Linked DNA regions of Homo sapiens: region 2 is linked to region 1. The links are contacts of gene promoters, found by promoter capture Hi-C in blood cells and fetal thymus (Javierre and others, 2016). All regions are on one chromosome and are shown on one strand. Each heading gives the region's core, a stretch centred on a gene start or on the middle of the fragment in contact. The rest is flanking DNA. Distances are from core to core; before and after follow the strand shown.

What was found. The method cuts DNA at HindIII sites, captures the fragments that hold promoters and counts their contacts. A CHiCAGO score of 5 or more calls a contact.
Region 2: a fragment that was not itself captured here is called in contact with the fragment with the promoter of CAHM in region 1 in 1 of 17 cell types (fetal thymus); the score reaches 6.1 in fetal thymus.

What each region holds. Positions count from the first base shown.
Region 1 is chr6:163,409,260-163,417,193 of GRCh38, forward strand. It overlaps CAHM (colon adenocarcinoma hypermethylated), which reads right to left and starts at 4,691. Exons shown (of 1, transcript NR_037593.1): 1 at 3,806-4,691. QKI (QKI, KH domain containing RNA binding) reads left to right here and starts at 5,459. Exons shown (of 8, transcript NM_006775.3): 1 at 5,459-6,076. The coding sequence starts at 5,935. It overlaps LOC124901234 (basic proline-rich protein-like), which reads left to right and starts at 2,322. Exons shown (of 4, transcript XM_047419614.1): 1 at 2,322-2,450; 2 at 3,355-4,826; 3 at 4,990-5,409; 4 at 5,706-5,917. The coding sequence starts at 3,947. The coding sequence ends at 5,917. RefSeq lists silencers at 4,098-4,877, 4,968-5,787, 6,038-6,087, 6,288-6,477 and enhancers at 4,711-5,363, 5,364-6,017. The HindIII fragment of the contact is 4,236 bases long and covers 3,074-7,309 here.
Region 2 is chr6:149,749,931-149,757,864 of GRCh38, forward strand. It overlaps PCMT1 (protein-L-isoaspartate (D-aspartate) O-methyltransferase), which reads left to right. Exons shown (of 8, transcript NM_001360452.2): 1 at 1-26. Among named protein-coding and RNA genes, the nearest start is that of PCMT1, 4.2 kb to the left of the region's middle. RefSeq lists silencers at 181-417, 343-637 and enhancers at 742-1,244, 1,245-1,747. The HindIII fragment of the contact is 3,257 bases long and covers 487-3,743 here.

The DNA.
Region 1 (7,934 bases), core at 3,441-5,940:
GGAGTAGATCAAAACAAAATGCATTTGTAACTCACTCTCACCTTCCTGTGATTGACAGACAGTTATTTTTTAGGTGGTTTCTGTTTAAATATGGAATGAAGGTTGGATTATATAGCACAAGGACCTGCATCCTGGCTGAGAATGTTTTTACCTCTAAAGTTTCATTTAGGGTCAAATGAGTAGAAACCTTACACTGTCAGTTACCGTTTAACCGTTGTGCAGTAGTTTAAGCTAAATGTTAGTACTACATCTGGAATGATCATGTCAGTGGCTTAAAAAAGCAGCACAGTTACCATTAGAACAGCTGTGAAGAGCAATGCCTTTCATTTTACAAATGTTGTATTTGTACTAGTAGATATAAATAAGGTTCACTGAGAGGAATCCATGTTACTATCTAATTTGTTCATTTCTTTATATTAAAAAAAAATTCCTTTTGAGATCAGCCTGGGCAACAACCTAGGGAGACCACCTCCCCCCTGACCGCCCCCCGCCCCCGCCGCCATCTCCGCCCACTCCCCATCCCAACACACACACAAATCCCAAGGCTCTTCCCCTACAAACACTCTAGTTTGATGTTCAAGGCCAACCAAAATCTGGCATCAAATACTCTCTGTGGAAACTCCTACCCTAACACCTCGTACTTTTCCACTTCCCAAGTTCTGTCATTGCTGTCTCCCAACACTCTTTGCTCCGCCTCGAGATCAAATCCACCTCCCCGGTGTGGTCTTACAATGGCTTCCGGGCAGGCAATGTTGGTGCTCACCGGTATTTTCACAGCATTTTTGTCTTTAGCCTTTACGTGGCAGTTATTAGTTAACTTTTTAAATGTACCTGCACATGCTATTAACTCCCAGCTCAGCCTGTAAATGCCTTAGGGTTAATGATATGCATTTACATATAACAGGTACTGGAAATATTTAAGATATTCACATTTGAAATGTTTCATTTTCAATCTTTTAAATAGTACCTGATAAGCCATCTCACAATTTAAAAGTAAAAAAAATTTTAAAAAGTAAAAAAAAAAAAAAAAAGCGCCATCTCGTAATTTAAAAGGATGCTCAAATCTATTAAGACAATAAACAATTATTTTGCGAAGATACCAAGAATGCCCCAATTCCTTTTAGGAAAATCTAAAGACTAAGATTTTTAAAAAGAACACTGGGACAAAAAGCCATAAAACCCTAAATCTTATATCCAAGGAACATTATAGTTCTTTCGAGAACTCTATGGTGATAAAGAAAGGTTTGGAATACTGCAAATTTCTATTTTAAATGTTAAGAATAGCAATAAGCAAATAGAGCCAATCAAATTTAACAGAATAGAAAATATGTTTCCACGCCTGGTTAATTACTGATGTTAGAATGTGGAACCATTTTTAGTGTCAACATATTAGATGACAATTTTTCACAGTGAAAAAACCTATTATAGGGATCTTCAACTGGAGGCTCATTCTGTATATATACTCACTACATGTTGTAATTTATTTTCAATACTGTATTAAGATAACATTTTTGTAATAATGTAATTATTACAAAGTTAGTCTTTCTACATTTTTTTTTTTGAGACGGGATCTTGCTCTGTTGCCCAGGCTGGAGTGCAATGGTGTGATCACAGCTCACTGCAACCTCTGCCTCCCTGATCCTCCCACCTCAATCTCCCAAGTAGCTGGGTCTACAGGTATGTGACACCAGACTCTGTTAATTTTTGTATTTTCTAGAGAGATAGGGTCTCACTATGTTGCCTAGACTGGTTTCAAAATCCCGGGCTCAAGTGATCCACCTGTCTTGGCCTCCCAAAATGCTGGGATTACTGGCACAAACACCGCACCCGACCCTCTGCAGCTACTTACTCCTCCTAAGCATCAGCCCTCTCATCTCTGAAATATGGCTCTTCCTGCCTACCTCAAATATTGGCTGTAAGGATGAAAATAAACAATGAAGATAAGGGTTTTGCAGAGCTTCTGGTCCATAACAAGTACTTAATACTTCTTTTGGACATATATTTAATAAGTGCCTACGTGTACCATATGCTGATCTAGGTGTTGGAAATTCCTAATAGAAGAAACTCCTTTTTCTCATGGAGCTTACAATGTTGATGCCAGTGGCAAACGAGTTGACCCATTGTTACGTGGAAACAAATGGTATGAAAAGAACCTGGGGTAAGCAGATGGAAGAAGGGAGGAAGTGTTTGCGTGCACAAAGGCGCCATTTTACATAGGGTGTTAAGGGACACCTTCTAAAGATAAATAGGGGCAGGGGTCGCCGATGTATGGGGAAAAGCTTTCCGAGGAGAGCAAACACCAAGGGCAGAGTCCTGGGGAGGGTAAGCATGCTTGGAATATTTAAGGATCCAGACGGATTCCACGGGGGTGCAGCCAAGTGGGCTGTGGGAGGAGAAGGACATAAGGTCAGTGATGCACCAGGGGCACACCTGTCGTCTTGCAGGACTTGGTAAGCTCTTCGGATTTTTTCTTTCTTTCCTTTTTTTTTTTTTTTTTTTTGAGATAAGAAACCATTGAGGGACTGTCAGGAAATGAGGTGATCTACATAGATTTGAAAAGGTAACCTGCCAGGCACGTGGCTCACGCCTGTAATCCCAGCACTTTGGGAGGTTGAGGGGGGCGGATCACCTGAGGTCGGGAGTTCGAGACCAGCCTGACCAACATGGAGAAACCCCCGTCTCTACTAAAAATACAAAATTAGCTAGGCGTGGTGGCGCATGCCTGTAATCCCAGCTGCTCGGGAGGCTGGGGCAGGAGAATCACTTGAACCGGGGAGGCAGAGGTTGCAGTGAGCCGAGATCGCGCCATTGCACTCCAGCCTGGGTGACAAGAGCGAAATTCTGTTTCAAAAAAAAGAAAATTAACACACAGTAGCTATTATCAAATGCTGTAACCGTAAGTGATTTAATACATAGGAAATGAAAATTGCCTATCATTGTTCTTTAATCTGGTTTAAGTGGTTGAGCCTTATGACACTGCCATTTCTATGGGTCAAAAATGGTGGAATATTGTCATAAAATTCAACCTGATTTAAAGGATAGGGCAAGGAAAAAAAGCAAAAAAAAAAAAAAAAGCTTTAGAATAAAATATAATTGGATTATAATCCCAGACACAGGACTCACTAGCTATATTCTTGGGCAAGTTACTTAACTTCATCTTTCTTGGGTTTCCCCTTATTTGTAAAATGGGGATAACAGTCTAACCTAAGCCCAAGTTGTACTGATGATTAAACGAGATATGCATGTAGGGCATTCAGCATAGTGCCTAGGAGCTTAATAAATAAGCAGGCCATTAAGAAGGGGATTGCATCTTTTACACTAGCAGCATCAAAACCTTGATTTTGATTTTTCTAGGTACTGAAACAGCCTTCATTACTTAGAGACCATAGCTTTTTTGCAAGTTACTATTCCCTGCATTTAGAAAGTTCATCTTTAAACAGGCAATTCAGTAAGTAAATATTCTATGGCTCTAAAACAGATACGGCTGTTGGAGACTTTAAAACATCTGACAGTTACATTTTTAATGTTGTCTACCAAGGCTATTACATTTCCTCTGTCAAAGTAACTTAATTTTAAAAACGAACTCTGTGCTTGTTAAACGAAAAGGCCAGAAGGCTACTGGCTACTCAGCGTTCATTTGAAATTCTTATAGTGCCTTCAGTACAATTCAAACTTAGAGGTGATTCTCACAATTCATGTGAAGCAACATTTTACAAAAAAAATCACCTACGTTCACTGTTAAGTCAGAAGACAGAATGATTAACAAAATCTCAGCCGCGAATTACTCTCACGATGGCCAACTGGATATTAAATAACTCTGCATTATTTTAATGGAATGTTATAAAGGATTTGCAACAAAATGCAGACGTAGATTTAGGGACTGCCGACTTCTATAGATCAAGGACTTCATTGGTGCAGCTGAGGAAATTCTTCCAAACAAGTCTAAATGTTGGAAATCCACCAAACTGCAGAGAAAGACCTCTTGCCTCCGTATTCTTTCTTCATCTGTAAAAATGTTGACTTCTGCTTTTCAGACTACGCGCACAGCCTCTTTATTTCCTACTGCGGCTTCATTCCCTCACGGAACACTGACGCCATCGCGAAGGAAGCATTTCGAGCACGACTGACGCTCCCCTTATTATTTGCTAAGCCGCTGCGCTCGGGTCTGGCTACGATTTGCTTTCAGAATAACGGGAAGGTGCAACAAGATCGCTTCCCTAGAGGCGCGTCGCCCGCGTGGCCCGGACCCCCCACGCCCGCCCGCCGCCCCGTGGGTGCGCACGCGTGTCCGCGCAGGCTTCCCGCCTGGCGAGTGCAAGGCTCCTCTCCGCCGTGCTGCTTTCCAGCCTCTCAGCAAATCACGAACACCGAAAGAAGCCACGGCGGCGACGGGAGGGGCGTCGCGCGTGCTTCCCTCGGCGACAAAGCGGGAGCCGGGCGCGCCGGCCGAGGGCGCCCGGCGCAGAGTCCCGCAGAGGCGGACGCCGCGGCACGCGCCTCGAAAAGCCTCAAACTCTTATCCTCGGCTCTCCCGCCCCACCTCCGCCCCGCAGCCAAGACCCGCGCCGTGGCGGGCCCGACGGCCAAGGAAAGCCCACCAGCCCTCCGCACCGTGGGCGACGGGCCAAGACCCGGCCCTAAACGGCCAGACCCAGCCCCTAGTCGGCTGCCGCCCCCGCCCCACGCAGGCGCGCTCCGGGGCCCTCCCCTCCCCCACCGCGCGCTCGCGGGGCCCGACGGGGGCGGAGCGACCCTCGGAAGGGGCGTGGCGACCGGGCTCGACGCGCGCACGCGCTCTGGAGCCCCACGGCTACGTGTCGGGCCACGTGATGCCCACCCCGAAAGTCCCCCGTGAAGCAACAGGACGTTAAAAAAAAATTTCTCTTCTGCGGGGTGGATAAGAGGTTCTGAAAAAACTATAGTAACGGGAGGCGAGGCGGAGGCAGCGCTGGCGCGTCCCGCTGGAATTCCTCTCGCCTGCCGCGCCAGCCCCGACCGCGCCCGCAGCCCCACCCGCCCCGTGCCGTGGAAAGCCCCGCGCCCCCCCCGCGGCCGTCGGCCCCGCAGCCCACACCCACCCGCCCCGGGCGCCCCGCACGGCGGCGACCCAGTCCTTGCGCCCAGGCCCGCCGAGCGCCGCAGTCCGTCACACTCCCGTTGCCCCCGTCGCCCGCCCCGCCGGGGAGGCAGGGAGGAGGGGGCGCGGCGCCGGCGGCTGCCCCGGTCGCGGGGCGGCGGGCAGCAGGCAGCGGGAGCGCGCCGGCCGGGACCCGCTAACGGCCGCCCTGCGCGGCCCCGCCCGCCGCCCGCCCCCGGCCCTCCCCGCGCCGCTGCCCCTCCCCCCGCCGCCGCCGCTGCTGCCGCCGCCGCTGGCAGCGCCGCCTGAACTGAGGCGAACTCCGCCGCCAAGTGAGTGAGGAGGAGGAGGAGGAGAAGGAGGAGGAGGAAGAGGAGGAGCGCAGTCGGAGCGCGGCGGCAGCGGCAGAGGCGCCGCGGCGGGGACCAGCCCAGAGAGACCCCCCGAGCCCGCGGCACAGGCGGCGGCGGCGCTGAGCGGGCTCGACCAGCCGAGCGAGCGGCGGCCCCGGCTCCTCCTCGTCCGGCGCCAGCAGCCCGCGCCCCGCGCCCGCACTCGGCCAGCCGAGACCCGCCTCCCGCCCGCCCGCCGGCCTCGTGAGGGACGCGCCGAGCCGGGCGGCCGAGAGCGGCGGCGGCTGGGAGCGCGTCGGGCCCGGGCGGAAAGTGCCTGCGGGGGGCGGGCGAGCGCGCGGTGCCGGCCGCCCCGGGGCTCGGCGCGGGAGCCAGAGCGGGAGCCGGCGCGGAGCGGGACGCCGGGTCCCGAGCGGCCCGCGGCCGGGGCTCGCCCCCGCCCCTCCCTCCTCTCCGGCGGCGGCGGCGGCGGCGGCGGGCGGAGTGAGCTGCGGAGCCTGGAATATGGTCGGGGAAATGGAAACGAAGGAGAAGCCGAAGCCCACCCCAGATTACCTGATGCAGCTGATGAACGACAAGAAGCTCATGAGCAGCCTGCCCAACTTCTGCGGGATCTTCAACCACCTCGAGCGGCTGCTGGACGAAGGTGAGCGTCTCCAGGGCCCCGGCCCCGGCCCGACCCCCGCCGGGGCGGCCCCTTTCCCCGCTTGGGATGGTGGGGAGGGCGGGAAGGTCACGGCCGGGCGGGACCGAGCGCCGGGGGGACTGGGAGGCCAGGAGGGCGCACAAAGGAGGTGCCGGGCCGGGCTTGCGGCGGGCGGGCGGGCCGGGGTGGACCCGCCGGTGCCGGACGCCCCCTGCCCGGCCGGGACCCCGCGCCGCTGGCGTCCAAGTTGGCGCGTTGCGGAGGGCTGCGGGGTGAGCCCTGCGGCCCCTCTAGCTTCGGCGGTCACATTTCCGAGAGGTCGGCGGGGGCTGCGCGGACTCGGTGGTCCTCGCCGAGCCCTCCCGAGAGCAGGCCCACGCCGCGCCGCCGGCCTGGAGGACGCGTGTGCCCGGCGCGGGCCCCGCTCCTCCGCTCGGCCTCCCGAGCCTGCTCTGCGCGGACCCCCACCGCCCCGCGTTCGGGAGCTCTCCCCTCCCGTGAGGACTAAAGCGGGGTTTCGTGGTTGGGGAGTTGGTGCAGCTGTTCAATACTAAGTGGAAGTCAGTGTGGGGCTCGTTAGTTTAAAGAAATTCCGTAGGAGACCGAAATTATGCTGGCGTAGCCGACAAGGAGGACTAAGTGACGGCGAAAAGCACTTTTTTCCCTTTTGTTTGGGGAAGCGAGAACTGTTAGGGAGTTGAACTTCACTTTTCGGGGGTGGGGGGGGGGGGGGTGGAGTGCGAAATAACGCGATGACAGATCGGAGCGCAGCCTGAGTTAGAAGAACTTGGGCGGAGGGTTTGCTCCCGGGGACGCAGCCGCCTGAGTTTGTAGGACAGGGTTTCGAGACGTTTGGAAAGGGCGAAATAAAATTGAGCCAAAGTTTCCAAAAAGCTGTATGGAGCGCTGTGGGGAGTGAAGAATGACAAGAAGATTAATGTTGACCAACTTTGGAATTTCCTTAAGAAGTTCTCATAGCAGTACCTGAAGTATTAATTTCTAGTAGCTGTGGGTTTCTGTGGACGCCTAGAGAAAAAAAAGACCACAAAAAAAGTCTGTTTCGAAAATCGACTGGCCAGGAGTTTGTTTGTTTTTTTTTCCTGCTTAGAGGCACCACCGGAGGACTGTGTAAAGGAAACTGAAAACTACAGGTTGAAGAGATGAACAATGGAGTTTAGATTTTTCGCAAGAATTTCGAGATTTTAAAAATAGAGTCGGGGAACAGGAGTTTGAAGCTTGGGGAGTTGGAATGTCACTAGAGAACAAAAGGCCGGAAATGTTTCCATGATAAAAAATGGTTAAAGAAAAATCCCAGGAGTTCTGTTGTCTTGAAAGTCATAGAAACAACTTAAAAGTAGAAAATGGTTAGGTGTTACGGCTTTCTCGTCGTTTTGCTTCCGTATGTTAAACATACAGCACTCACCAACGTTGAAATGGGCATTTTCCGCTGTTGGAACAGCAAATCTGTTAATTTCAAGTTGCTCCAGAGAAAACCTGAGCTGTCCCTTTAAGGGGTTCTGCTTTTCCTATTTGTGTTGGCATTTGAAAGATTGTGGAGGCAGAAAACTTTCTGGAATGTCAAAAAAAAAAAAAAAATGCTGGAACTCTTAAATTGAGTATTTCCAAATGTGAGCGCTAAGGGGCGCCAGTTATTTTTTAACCATGGAAATGGTTGGAACAAAATGTGTAACATACTCAATCTGACTGACCTATATTAAATTTAGTTGAAACTTAAGTTATAGATTATTTGATTTGTCATAATGTGTTTATATAGTGTTTTCGAACATTGAAAATACTTTCCTTAAAATTATTGGCACAACTTTATGACGTTTCAAAATAACACTCTTACTGTCTTCTC
Region 2 (7,934 bases), core at 865-3,364, about 14 Mb before region 1:
CTCGGAGCTAATCCACAATCTCCGCAGTAAGTGCCACCTCCGCCCGTTGTAGGGCAGCTGGGGCAGGCTGGGCCTGGACCGGGTCCCCCTGGGCCGTCCGGAACGTTCTGTCTGTCCCCGCGCGCCTGTTGGAGGGCTTCGGCGCAGAGTTGCCCCGGTAGTCCCGAACGGCGTGCGCTTGCAGTCGCCTCCCTCGGGACCTGTCACTCGTCGACGACGTGGACTGGAAGGGGAGAGAAAGAGCCAGGGGCCGCTGCTGGTGGGGGCAGGGGCAGTCGTCTCCCTGCAGGCCCTGGGGGAGGGAGTGCAGTACAGGTGATGCTGCTGTCACTCAGGTCCGCGTCCGGGTCCGGCTTGTGAGGGGCGTGCCTTCGGGGTGGGAGCGTGTGGGCTAGGCCTTATGGAGAGTGGGCTGGCGCTCAGGAGACCCCACCCTCGTCCCCTGCATTTTTCTCACCTTCCTCCTCCATAATCAACCTCGCTGCAAGCTTTCCCTCTTATGCAGCCTCCCCCGCCCTCCGTTTTTTCCCCTGGAGGGAGATGCCACCGTCTGATACAGGCGAGGGGAGGAAGATGAGAGTATTGCCATTGCAGATGCTGGGAGAAATTTCTCGGGCGGCTGTCCAGTGGAAAGCTCCGTGCGGGGCGGAGAAAGAACAGGGGATGCTGTTCCTGAGAGACTTGTATTTCAGGAGCCTTTGCAGGTCCTGGATCAGCAGAGGGTTGTGTGTCTGATGTTCTAACTTTTTTCAGGGCTACCATAGGCTTTAAAAACCTTATGTGGAGTTTCTTTATATCACTCTCCTTAGTTACTGTATTCCTTCTTCTGATGATAATTTTAGGATAGGATGAGTGCTGTGTCACTTTCTTTTTTTAAATCGAAATATAGCGTCCCCGTTTTGTTGGGAGACTACAAGGGCCGCAGTCTATAATAAACTCACTGGTCAGAATTTATAGCATTATTCGCTACTATGCAGTAATCATATCTTGTCACATGGTATTTTTAATTGTCCTGTGTTACTTAGCTTTTCATGTGTTTGTCTTATTTCTCAACTCGATTTGTAATTTCCTTAACGGCTGGCACCATTAAAAAAAATTTTTTTTGGCCGGGCTCATTGGCTCACGCCTGTAATGCCAGCACTTTGGGAGGCCGAGGCGGGTGGATTACCTGAGTTCAGGAGTTCGAGACCAGCCAGGCCGACATGGTGAAACCCCATCTCTACTAAAAATACAAAAATTAGCCGGGCGTGGTGGTGCCTGCCTGTAATCCCAGCTACTTGTGAGGCTGAGGCAGGAGAATCGCGTGAACCCGGGACGGGGAGGTTGCAGTGAGCCAAGATCTTGCCACTGCACTCCAGCCTGGGCAACAAGGGAGGAAACTCCGCCTCAAAAAAAAAATTTTTTTTTGAATTTTCTCTAAGAATTTAACAGTCATCCCTTTTTTTCATAAATGCCCATTAAATGTCCGTTATATGCCTAAATCTGTGCTAGACAGACAAAGGTAATTGAGAGAAATTAGGAGTACTGTTTGGCACATGGTTGGTACTTTTTTTTTTTTTTTTTTTTTTTGAGACAGAGACTCCCTCTGTAGCCCAGACTGGAGTGCAATGGCGCGGTCTTAGCTCACTGCAACCTCCGCCTCCCAGGTTCAAACAATTGTCCTGTCTCAGCCTCCTGAGTGGCTGGGACTACAGGCGCCTGCCAGCACGCCTGGCTAATTTTTGTATTTTTAGTAGAGAAGGGGTTTCACTATGTTGGCCAGGCTGATGTCGAACTCCTGACTTCATGATCTGCCCACCTCGGCCTCCCAAAGTGCTGGGATTATAGGCGTGAGCCACCGCGCCAGGCCGGTACTTGATATATTAGTCATTTTGGATTTTTTTTTGGTGGGGGGACAATACTTAATGTGGAAACTGAGTCTTTAGTGTTTGGTAAGAGAGAATGTTGATTATTTTTTTTTTTTAGACAGGGTTTCACTGTCACCCAGGTTGGAGTGCAGTGGTGTGAGCTCGGCTCACTGCAACCCCTGCTTTCTGTGCTCAAGCGATTTTCCCACTTCAGCCTCCTGAGTACAGTGGTGCCACCATACCAGGCTAATTTTTAGGGTTTTTTTTTTTTTTTTGGTAGTTTATGAGATGGGGTCTTGCTATGTTGCCCAGGCTGGTCTTGAACTCCTGGACTCAAGCAATTTGTTGGACTCAGGCTCCCAAAATTTTGGGATTACAAGAGTGAGCCACCGCACCTGGCCATGGTGAATGTTTAGATGTCAACATTTTTTTTTTTTGAGACAGAGTTTTGCTCTTGTTTCCCAAGCTGGAGTGCAATGGCGTGATCTTGGCTCACTGCAACCTCTGCCTCCTGGGTTCAAGCGATTCTTCTGCCTCAGCCTCCCGAGTAGCTGGGATTACAGGCACCCACTACCACGCCTGGCTAATTTTTAGTATTTTTAGTAGAAACGGGGTTTCACTATGTTGGCCAGGCTGGTCTCAAACTCTTGACCTAAGGTGATCTGCCTGCCTCGGCCTCCCAAAGTGCTTGAATTACAGGTGTGAGCCACCACGCCCAGCCTAGATGTCAATATTTTGTCAAGCATTGTCAGGTTCATTTTATGGAATGATGCTTGATTGGAAATGGACATTTATGTGCTACAACAGTAGTATGAAGTATGATTTGGGTTCTCATGGATGGCACATAAGCTCAATATGTTGTAAATATTTTTTACGAAATCCCTTAACATGATCTCAGTGCCTTCTATTGCAGTATATGTACCTGAAACATTTTGTACACAAATTGTGATTAAGTAATTTTCCACCGGTAGGTTATCATAGTAGGCACTTGGCTGTGGCAGAAATTTGTAATCAATCAGGCTCTTAAAGTCTCTCCTTTTTTGGGCCAAATTTGTGGTAAGCCAAGACTAGATAGATCTTTTCCCGGTGGTTTCATAATCACTTTAATGTATTGCATTACTGTTCTTAGCTGAAATTTCTAAGGATGTTTTTCTGTCAGGAAATTTAATAAGGAATATTTAATATACATAGATGTTGATTTTGCAAATAGTTTTATACTAGATTTATGATTGGTAAGAGGAAATTAGAGTAGAATAGTTGTTTAGCCTCTTTTGTAACACTTGTGCAACTTTAGTTTCAACTTCTTGCTGAGGTAATTCTAGCTAATAGATTTCTTTTTATTAGCTTATTATAAAAGTAATACTTGCTCATGTGAAAATTGTAATTGACATAAAATTTGAAAATATTGCCTTCCTTCCTCATTATTCTACTGTGTATATTCTTCCTAAATTAAAGGCTTTTAATTGAAATCTTAGAAAAATATAAAAATGTGATTGTGTTGATGTTGAAATGAAAAGGGGCCTGCTTACTAGAAGGGGAAGGAAATTACATTTTTAATGGTTTTTTTTTTTTGAGACAGAGTTTCGCTCTTATTGCCCAGGCTGGAGTGCAATGGCACGATCTCAGCTCACCACAACCTCTGCTTCCCAGGTTCAAGCAATTCTCTGGCCTCAGCCTCCCGAGTAGCTGGGATTACAGGCAGGCGCCACCACACCCAGCTAATTTTGTATTTTTAGTAGAGACAAGGTTTCTCCATGTTGGTCAGCTGGTCTTGAATTCCCAACCTCAGGTGATCTGCCTGCCTCAGCCTCCCAAAGTGCTGGGATTACAGGCATGATCCACCACACCTGGCCAATAGTTTTTTTTGTTTTGTTTTGTTTTGTTTTTAAGAAATGAAGCTTAATATAATTTGTTAAGAATATTTTGTTTTCCTTTTGTATTAAAATCTATCATAATAGGACTGTGGTTGTATGATTTCATAGTTGATGCATCATTTATAGAATATTTCAGATTGTAATGGTAGATTTCTTATGTCATGGCTTATATTATAACCACTCTTAAGTAACTTAGAACAGTGACTAAAACTTGAGCATGCTTCAAAATCTCCTGAATCACCTGGAGAGCTTTTCAAAATACAGATTGCCGGAGCTTGAGAATTTGTATTTCTAACAGATTTGTAAGTGGTGCCACTGCTGGTCCAGGGACCACATTTTGAGAACCAGTGACATGGAGAATTGAAAATTATAAGGTTGAATTCTGCCAGCATATCAGCTAAATCAGTTTTATGCTTTAGAATAATGTTTTAGAAAAAGTCTATAGCAGTCTTGCCCTATAGAGTGCTTGGTGATGTTCTCTATATTGTCCAGTGTGGTAGCTACTAGCTACATGTGGCATTTAACATTTGAAATGTGGACAACTGAAGAACCGAAATTCAATTTTTTAAAAAATTAACTTAATGAAATAACCACATGTATCCAGTAGTTACCATATTGGACAGCACAGGTCTCTAGAAATGAAAAAATACAATTATTTTATGATTATGGACTGGTAATGTGCTCGTGAAACAAATTAGCTTAATTTGAAACCGTGAGCCTGCTTAATCCAGGGAATGTGACTATTTAAATAATGTTTATATTAGAGTTTACTTCCTACTCGTATTGAGATAATTTCAAGCCATGGTAAAATTTAGGAAGATAGCCAGAGTAGGTGAGGTGATGTTCTGGAGCAGGGGTATTTAAACCAGAGGGTTTGTGGGATGTTAACTTAATGGATAGGCTTCAAATGCTATAGAGTAGTCCCTCCCTTATCCCATGGTTTTGCTTTCTGAAGTTTCAGTTACCCCAAGTCAACTGAGGTCTGAAAATATTAAATGGGAAATTCCTGAAACAAGCAATTCATAAGTTTTAAATTGTGTGCTGTTTTGAGTAGCGTGAGGAACTCTCTGGACGTCCCACTTGATCCTGCCCGTGACATGAATCATCCCTTTGTTCAGCATATCTATGCTGTCTACACCTGCCCGTTTGTCACTTAGTAGCCTATTTGGTTAGCAGTGACTGTCATAGTATCACAGGGCTTGTGTCCAAATAATCCTTATTTTACTTAATAATGGACCCAAAGTGCAAGAATAATGGTGCTGGCATGTAATGATACTTGTTCTATTTTATTCATTATTTTTGTTAATTTCTTAATTGTGCCTAATTTATAAACTAAACTTTATTATAGGTATGTTACGTATAGGAAGAAAACAACATACAGATGGTCCCTGACTTAACAGTGGTTTGACTTACAAGTTTTTTACTTTACTGGATGTAAACCTGTCATAATAAACCTGTTATAAGTTAAGGAAGGCCGAGTGCGGTGGCTCACACCTGTAATCTCAGAACTTTGGGAGGCTGAGTCAGGAGGATCGCTTCAGTCCAGGAGTTTGAGACCAGCCTAGGCAACATAGTGAAAATAACATTTGTCATTTTCTCTACAAAAAATAAACAAAATTAGCTGGGCATTATGGTGCATGCCTGTAGTCTCAGCTACATGAGCTACGTGGGAGGCTGAGATGGGAGGATCACTTGAGCCCGAGAGGTTGAGGGTGCAGTAAGCCAAGATCATGCCACTGCACTCGAGCCTGGGTGATGGAGCAATACTTTGTCTCAAAAAAAAAAAAATGTTGAGTATCTGTATGGGCTGTATGGGCTTTGGTATTGTATGCGGTTTCAGGCATCTATTAAGGGTCTTGGACCGTATTTCCTGTGGGTAAAGGGAAACTACTGTACTGACCACTGAAAGCAATTGTTCTTTTATCTATTTTTATTTGTAAAAATAATTCAGTCCATTCCCCTAATGATCAATTGTTTCTACTTATGTTTCTTTTGCATTCTTGATTTTGTCATTTTACATATATAATGTTTATGGAATTTGTCATTTAGTCAGCTGATATTTTAGTGCTTTCTATATGACAGGCACTGGGGATACAGCAGTGAACAAAACAAACATCCACTCCCTCTTGTAGCTTCTAATGGGAGCAGCCAAGTATAGTATGTCACATGATAAGTGACAAAGTAGGGAGGGAGGACAGAGTGTGTGGGGCAGTAGGTTTATAGTTGTAGAGAAGGCCTCAGTAAGGTATCATTAGACCAAAGATTTGCTGGAGGAGTAGACACATATCACGCAGGTAGACTTGGGATAAGCATTCCAGGCAGAAGAAATAGCGAATTCCAGATTTGGATTTAGGATCTGGGAGAAAAGATTGGAGGCAAGGATCCAACACCAAGGTTTTAGGCCTTGGCAACTGGAATGATTTGCCATTTTCTAAATTGGAAATGGTGAGTGAGTGAGCAGCCACGTTTATTCTGTGAGGAGGGGACTGTGGGAGATCAGATTATTTTGAGGAATGCTTTTCTTATAAGACATTTAAGTCGAGATTTTTAGTAGGCATTTGAATATGCAAGAATTATGATTTGTAGTTTTTATATCCTAAAAGCATTTACTTTTGTAAATAATGAAATTATTTTCTATCTACAGCACCAGTTCTTAGCCACTAGTAGGTGTTGCTAGTAGAAAAGAGCATTTATTCTTTCCCTTTTTTTTTTTTTGAGACAGAGCCTCTTTCTGTCGCCCAAGCTGGAGTGCCGTGGCGTGATCTTAGCTCACTGCAACCTCTGTTTCCTGGGTTCAAGCGACTCCTCCATCTCAGCCTCCCGAGTAACTGGGACTACAGATGCACACCACCATGACTGGCTTTTTTTTTTTTTTTTTTTTTTTTTTTTTTTTGGTAGAGACGGGGTTTTGTCATGTTGCCCAGGCAGGTCTCAAACCCCTGGGCTCAAGTGATCCACCCGCCTCAGTCTCCAATATTGCTGGGATTATAGGCATGAGCCCCTGCGCCCAGCCAGCATTTACTCTTAATATTCCACTACTTTTGTATGCACATGGGAAAAATAGAACCAGCTGGTAAAATCCTAAGAAATTGGAGCCTCAAAGTCCAGAGGCCTTCTCATTTTGACTTATTTCAAACCAGTCTTATGGATAGGTACTAGTAAGTAAACTTGAAATCCTATGTATATATTTAAATTTAAATTATATAAAAATAAATAAAATTGGCCGGGCGTGGTGGGTCATGCCTGTAATCCTAGCACTTTGGGAGGCCGAGGTGGGTGGATCACCTGAGGTCAGGGGTACCAGACCAGCCTGGCCAACAATGCGAAAACCCGTCTCTACTAAAAATACAAAAATTAGCTGGGCATGGTGACAGGAGCCTATAATCCCAGCTACTCGGAGGCTGAAGCAGGAGAATCGCTTGAACCCGGGGAGTGGAGTTTGCAGTGACCTGAGATCGCTCCATTGTACCCCAGCCTGGGTGAAAAAGCGAAACTGCCTCAAAATAAATACATAAATAAATAAAATTAAAAATTTATATCTTTAGTCATATTAGCCACATTTCAAGAGCTCAGTAGCCACATGGAGCTAGTGCCCACCCTGTTGGACAGTGCAGATAGAGAATAGATCTGCCATCACTGAAGGTTCTTTTGGATTGCAGTAGATCTTGATGCTTGGCTGTATTACATTCTGGTTAATGAGATCTTAGGCTGTAGGAGGGGAAAGATTCGATTGTGCTGTTACAAAAATATTTTTATTAATATTATATTTAGCTTTGGTTAAATGCTTTCAGGGTGGCAGTGTAAAACTAAAGATTATTGGATAAGAGTGATGAAGATAACAAGAGGATCAGCATCTTACATGGTGCTTTGAAGGGATGGAGGTGGTTTGGTTTAGCAAAACCTTTAGGGAGCAGTGGTGTTTAAATTTGAAGAAATGTCATGTAGTAGAGGGTCAAACCAGGACAAATGGGAGGCAGATTTTGGCTCATTATAAGTAAGTATTCACAAAGCTATCCTAACAATCAAAAAGTTGGCTTTGAAAAAGTGTTTTCTGTCACCAAATATGTTGAAGCAAAGAATGGTTGACCATTTCACTGTAAGGGATATTGTAGAAGGGATTTTGTCATCAGATTTGAATGTACACTAGATCTCTAAGGACCCTTCCAAATCCAAGATTCTGTGATTTTTTTCCCCAGTGGTCCCTTGTACCTAG